Linked DNA regions of Homo sapiens: region 1 is linked to region 2. Evidence: promoter capture Hi-C in 16 types of primary human blood cells and fetal thymus (Javierre and others, 2016). All regions are on one chromosome and are shown on one strand. The core of a region is centred on a gene start or on the middle of the fragment in contact, and the rest is flanking DNA. Distances in the headings are between cores, read along the strand shown. Region 1 has its middle 16 kb from the start of HSD17B12. Region 2 holds the start of ALKBH3 (alkB homolog 3, alpha-ketoglutarate dependent dioxygenase).

Region 1 (3,222 bases), core at 382-2,881, 220 kb after region 2:
AATCAGAATACCAGAAAATGTCGTGTGAAGTATAGTGAACGACATTCACATTATCTATACAGGGTATCTAAACATATTTTCCTGTCTCTAGCCTCCTTCTATTAATTTTCCTTATTTTGTATTATGAGAATGTTAATGAGTCCCCTCAAAATCTTCTTTCAAACTAGGCAAAGAATGAAAAATAGGCCAGCACTTTGGGAGGCCCAGGCAGGTGGATCACTTGAGTTCAGTAGTTTGAGACCAGCCTAGGCAACATGGTGAGATGCTGTCTCTACAAAACAAACAAACAAAAAATGGCCAGGTGTGGTGGTGTGCGCCTGCAGTCCCAGCACTTTGGGAAGCTGAGGCAGGAGGACTGCTTGAGTCCAGGAGTTTAAGACCAGCCTGGGCAGTATGGCAAAACTCTGTCTTTGCCAAAAAAATAAAAGTTACCTGGGCGGGGTGGTGTGTGCCTAAGGTCCCAGCTGCTAGGGGAGCTGAGGTTGGGAGGATCTATTGAGCCCAGGAGGTTGAGGCTGCAGTAAGCCATGACTGCACCACTGCACTCCAGCCTGGGTGATAGAGTAAGACCCTGCCTCAAAAAAATAAAAATAAATATTTCCCCTTTCCTAGCACCCAGATATTGAGAAAATGGAGGGACTAGCATGCCTAAGGGCTCTAAAGTGGAAAAAATGCAGGAAGGAAGAAAGAGTAGCATGACTGGAGTGGAAAGGAAGGGAGGGTGGGAATGGGAATGATGGAAAGCTAATTTAAAAGTGAGCCAGGTGTGGTAAGATGCACCTGAGTCTGTGGTTAACCACATACAACCATAAAATATCCTTGGCGTACAATAAACTCCATCTACTTCTCATTCCCAACTTGTCTACTCCGTGGGTTGACAAGAATTTGGCCAATATAGGCTGATATCAGCAGGCTTTGCTCCAGGCCAAGGGTTGGATTTATCTTTGCTGTTTCTCTCAATTAGCTGGGATCACCCAGATCAGAAGATAATTTTAGACAAGGCATGCTTGTGTGTGTGTGTGTGTGCATGCGCGTGTGTGCGTGTGTAGAGCAAAGCATATCAGGAATAGAATCTTCTTTTTCTTTTTCAGAATGAGCCCTCAGTTGTGTGACCTTGGCCATTCTGGTATTTAGTTAGCTTACCTGTAAAATGGGGATGCAAATAATGTCTACCTTTCAGGGAGGATGACACCAAGAAACCTGAAGGACCTACTAGATTTACACTTCCACAAGTGGTCAATGGATTATTTGCTTCATCTCATTCTCATCAATAGTAGTTATCACCAGGCATGGTGGCTCACTCCTGTAACCCCATCACTTTAGGAGGCTGAGACGGGAAGATCACTTGAGGTCAGGAGTTCGAGATCAGTATGGGCAACATAGTGGGATCCTGTCTCTACAAAAAATTTAAAAATTAGCTGGGCATGGTGGCGCATGCCTGCAGTCCCAGCTACTCAGGAGGCTGAGGCACAAGAATCGTTTCAACCCGGGAGATGGAGGTTGCAGTGGGCCCAGATCGCACCACCGCACTCCAGCCTAGGCGACTAAATAAATAAATAAAACTTTAAAACCAGAGTTTTAGTTAGGGAAAAACAACCTTTGTCAAGACATGAGTAATTCTAGGGCTTTGTTTTCTGCTTCCAATCTATGCACTGTGTCAGACACTTCTCTTTCAGAATTGCCTTATTTACAACTATTAATATATTATGTATTACATTATCATGTATATTACGTGTTTAAGAAGGATATGAATGAACATTTTTTCTATAAAGACTTTAACATGGGTCTCTTTCTGATCTGGATTTGCAGGAAGACCAAAAGCCTTCACAGGATCCTCATAAATAAGCTCTTCATTCATCGTTTCATGAACGAGACATTTTAATCTTTTAAATGCAAATGTTAGAAAGACTTGCTTTCCAAAAACCAAGAATATTCCTTATTCATGCAAGATGTTTAGTAAACTGGGCTTAACATTAAAAACTCCGTTACTAGAAATCCTATTAATTGCAAATTTATGGAGAAACAACAAGAAATAATTTGTGTATGAGACAGAGCAGGGACCCCTCTTAGGGACTTGTGGGCACCCCCAAGCATGAAAATAAAGGAACATCTTAAATTCCTTCAAGGGAAGTTCCAGGCTCCTAGCTAGTCTTGAGAAGTAAATGAGCAACTTCATAAGCAAGAAGGTAGGAGTAGCCTAGAACAATAGCCATGGAAGTTAGAGTGATGTTTGGTTCCCTATGTAAAAAAACTAAAGATAACATCTTAACACATGTCCCTGTGTTATTTTTCAGAAACACAGACCCCCACCAAATGGATCGGCTGGCACATAGGCCTCAGATAAGAGGGAACTGAGGAATGAACTCTGAGGCCTGCTGTTTTTTGTTCTAAATTTCTTCTTGAGGGGCCTGGAGGAAGTCATGCCCATGAGCCAGTACAAATATTCTTTTCTGCTGACCCCAAATTTTTAAACAGAGCTTCTCTCCCTTACTCAAACTGCAAATGAGAACATCTTTGAATCTACATATGGTCTGTAAGCCTCTGCTTCAAGATATCCCACCCTTTTAGGCCAAACCAATGTATAACCTCCATATACTGATTTATGACTTAGCCTGTAACCTCTGCCTCCCTGCCTTAGAAACCCTTACCTGGGCCGGGCATAGTGGCTCAAGCCTGTAATCCCAGCACTTTGGGAGGCTGAGGCAGGCAGATCACGACATCAGGAGTACTGAGACCAGCCTGACCAATATGATGAAACCCTGTCTCTACTAAAAATACAGAAATTAGCCAGGCATGGTGGCGCATGCCTGTCATCCCAGCTACTCAGGAGAATCGCTTGAACCCAGGAGGCAGAGGTTGCAGTGAGCTGAGATCACGCCACTGCACTCCAGCCTGGGCAACAGGGCGAGACTCCATCTCAAAAAAAAAATAATAAAAATAAAAAATAAAAAAATAAAAATAAAAACCCTTACCTGTAAGCCACTAGAGGGGTTGAATCTTAAGCGTGCACTGCCTGATACTCCTTGCTTGGCACCCTGTACGTAAACATGCTTCTTTCTCCCACTGCAAACCTTGGTGTAGGTGTTGGCCTTACTATGCCAGGCTAAGGAACTCCAGTTCAGTTGGTAACATGGACAAGATTATAATTTTTGACTACAGGTTTCCAAGTATACAGAAAACATGGTTTAAAATGTTTGAAGGCTACCACTAACAAAATTTGTC
Region 2 (3,223 bases), core at 502-3,001:
TGTTTATTAAAACAAAACAAAACAGTGCTTTTAGTTAGGATTGTGAACAATTACTCCTAAGGCATAATTAATTTCAGGCAGAAGACTCTCAATGGCAATAGAGCTTCCATGTAAAATCAGTTTATGTCATCACAACATTTCATTCAAGAAGCCTAGTCATTTGGGGCTGCTGGCTTTAGCATTCACCTTTTGTAATCTTACCATAGTACTTTTGTTTCTTTCACAAGAAAGTGCATTTTAAGAAATTCTAAAATTAGGACCTATTATAAACCACATTCCTCTTAATAGTCCCCAAGAGTAGAATATAAGGAAACTGTACTATTCCCATTTTCACCTACATGGACATTGAGAAATCGGCTAAGACTGTTTCCAAGCATATATTCCATTATCACTGGCTGCATCAAACTTCCCTGGAAGTTTGTTCAAAATACCTATGGCCCACCTTCAGAAAATCTGATTTAGGATGGATACAGGTATTTGTCTTTATAACAAGCAGTGTAAGATTTGACACAATGCAGGTATGTATGTGGACGGTAAAGTTCAATGATGCACCCAAAGCCACTCAGGAAATCAACAACAGACAGATTAACATTCAACTTATATTAAACTCCTGTCTCCAGCTAACGGATAAATCCACCTCATAATGGCTAATAATACTAATTTGACAGTTGTACCAGTAAAAGCTTAGCCTACAGCAAATGCAGAAGCACGTACAGCTACCAAAACAACAAGGAAATTCAAGCCACATGTTCCACATCTGTAATCTATTTCTTTATGCTTCTACCTAAGAAAGCTTCACACCTCAAGTTCTCAAAGGTAAAAGCTCGTTTTATATTAATAGCTTGCTTAGACTATAGATTCCCAGGTCCCATCTCCCACCTCTTCTGATTCAGTAGAGCTGAGCCAGGCCCAGGAATCTGTGTGTTTAACAAGTTCCCCCAGATGATAAGCATGTAATTCATTTCATTTAATAGGTGGAGAGACGCAGAGGCTGCCATCTGCCCAGAAGAGTTAATGACAATCAAATACCAATTCTCCAATCCCAGGAGCTCCCGTTTGACATGTTCTCTCAATTGAGGCCCTAAAAGCGTAACACAATTACCTACAGTCCCCGCAGAGGATACGACTTGCTCACCTTCTTGCTCCATTCACTGGGGAGCCATATGTTATTTGCCAGGGAACAATTGTTGAAAATAGATTCCAGAGCCCCATCCCAGATCTACTCAATTTGTAGAGTCCCAGAATTTGTTAACTAACGCCACCCTCAACCCAGGAATTCTTAATGCACATAAAGCTTGAGAACCAGTGCTGTAAAATACAAGGACTCTGGCGCCAGCCAGAACTCGCTTTGAATCCAGATCTGTCACTTCCCAGCTGCATGGCCCATGGCAAATGACTTCACCTTTCTGAGCCCCAGTTTTTCCTCAGTAAACAGGGCAGTCACTTTCCGCACGGTTGAGGTGCAGACTAAGCGAGCTCCGCAGGTGGAAGAGCTTGGTCGTGGATAAGGGCACTTCCTTTTCCTAATTTAGATCCTTCTCTTTAAGGAGGCCTAGAATGAGGCCCCGGAGGTCGCCCAGGAAGAGACTTCAGGGGTGGTACTCGCACCCCCAGCCCCGCGCACCCAGCAGTAAGTCAGGAAGGCGCACTTGCGGGCGGAGCCGGGCGCGCCCGTGCAAACCCGGTAGGACTTGGGGCAGCCCTCGCAGCCCCTGACCCACTCCGCAGTCTGTGATCGGAACCTTAAGAGTGAAGCACCGACTCCAGCAACTCCCAATCACAGGCCGCGGCATCAGGCACTTCCTCTCGACGTTACGCAGCGCCGCCACTACTTCCGGTGCGCAGTCCTCAGTCCGGGTAGTCCCACATCCCCCGCGCCTGGAGGGCCTAATCACCGAAGGTGCTGATGAGGGGATATGTGTTGCAGCGGACAGGGATTGAGAGTGCAGGGGAGCGGTGTGAAGGGGTCGGGGTTTGGCAAAGGTGGAAGTGAAGGCGTGTCTCCTACGTGAGTTCCTCGAAACTGGAGATGTCCAAGCATCGGCATCTTTGTGGCAGAAAGAGTGACCGGGTCCCTGTGGGACTAGATAAAGGGAGAGGAGTTTGGGGGACCTGGTTATAATGTGTTAGGCAAAAGGATTTGCATTTTATCCTAAAAACCACGGAGAGCCTGAAATGAGCCTCCTTTGTGTTCCTATTGCAGCCTGTGCACACCTCCGAACACAGCATTTACAGCAGGGCGTAGGACCACGCCTTAATTCACCTTGGCTCTCTCCAGTGCTAAGCAAATTTGCTTGAGTGAACAGACCTACATTTTGGCCCAGACACCACCACTTACTAGTTGTATAATCTAGGGCAAGTACTCTGCCTCTTTTTAAAATGGGTATCGCTCTTTTTGGGAGGATTAAGTGAGATAATGCATTTAAAGAATATAGCACAATGCCTGGAACACAACAAAAACTCAAAAAATGAAAAAGAGCTCACCCCATTTGAGCTCATGAGAAACATCTTTAAAATGGTCATGTTAAACCATGTACTTTACAGTATGAAAATAGCAAAAGTAGCACTGAATTGACTGTTTTATGCAAGTCATTCTCTAAGATCCGCCAAAGTATAGTCACTGTGGAAATCTTTAAAATAAGCCTGATATGAGTGTTTACCTTCAGGAAGCTCATTATAGGTACACCTCATCAATGTGTACCTATATTGTTGCTACTATCAAATCCATTTTCACAGCACTCATTATTATTTGTTATACTTTGTGACACTGAAGGAAAAAAATGATTTATCCTAGACCTGAAAGGAGAGAAAATGCTAAGGCCACACTACAGTTTTTTTCCCCCATCAACTAATTTGTCAATGTCTGCTTCTGGCTCAGGAACTTTGGCTGTATCTTCTAAAATATGTTATTTCTTTCTTTTCAATGATTATAGTTTTGGAACAGGAACAAAGAAGTCTGGATTGAGGAGTTCCTAAAAGTAGTGATTGACACCTCTTCAGCCTCTACGTAGTGTATTTCTCAAAGATCAATCCATGATTTACTTGCATCTGAAATTACTGCTTTTTTTTTGTTTAACAGAATCACCTGCGTTTTTAACAAGCACCCAAGTGATTCTGGTGCACAAAAATTTTGAAAACCTCTAGGACATATGTAGGATGACAAATTGTTCTGGTTTGTATGGGCCTGAGGAGTTTCCCAAGACACAGGACTTTAAGTGCTAAA

Evidence for each region. The method cuts DNA at HindIII sites, captures the fragments that hold promoters and counts their contacts. A CHiCAGO score of 5 or more calls a contact.
Region 1: a fragment that was not itself captured here is called in contact with the fragment with the promoter of ALKBH3 in region 2 in 1 of 17 cell types (neutrophils); the score reaches 7.4 in neutrophils.

The regions. Positions count from the first base shown.
Region 1 is chr11:43,663,578-43,666,799 of GRCh38, reverse strand. It overlaps a transcript of HSD17B12 not described here. Among named protein-coding and RNA genes, the nearest start is that of HSD17B12, 16 kb to the left of the region's middle. The HindIII fragment of the contact is 9,786 bases long and covers 1-3,222 here.
Region 2 is chr11:43,879,359-43,882,581 of GRCh38, reverse strand. It overlaps ALKBH3 (alkB homolog 3, alpha-ketoglutarate dependent dioxygenase), which reads right to left and starts at 1,751. Exons shown (of 10, transcript NM_139178.4): 1 at 1,403-1,751. It overlaps LOC105376644 (a long non-coding RNA gene), which reads left to right and starts at 1,845. Exons shown (of 3, transcript XR_001748200.2): 1 at 1,845-1,900. RefSeq lists an enhancer at 1,766-1,965. The HindIII fragment of the contact is 7,136 bases long and covers 1,297-3,223 here.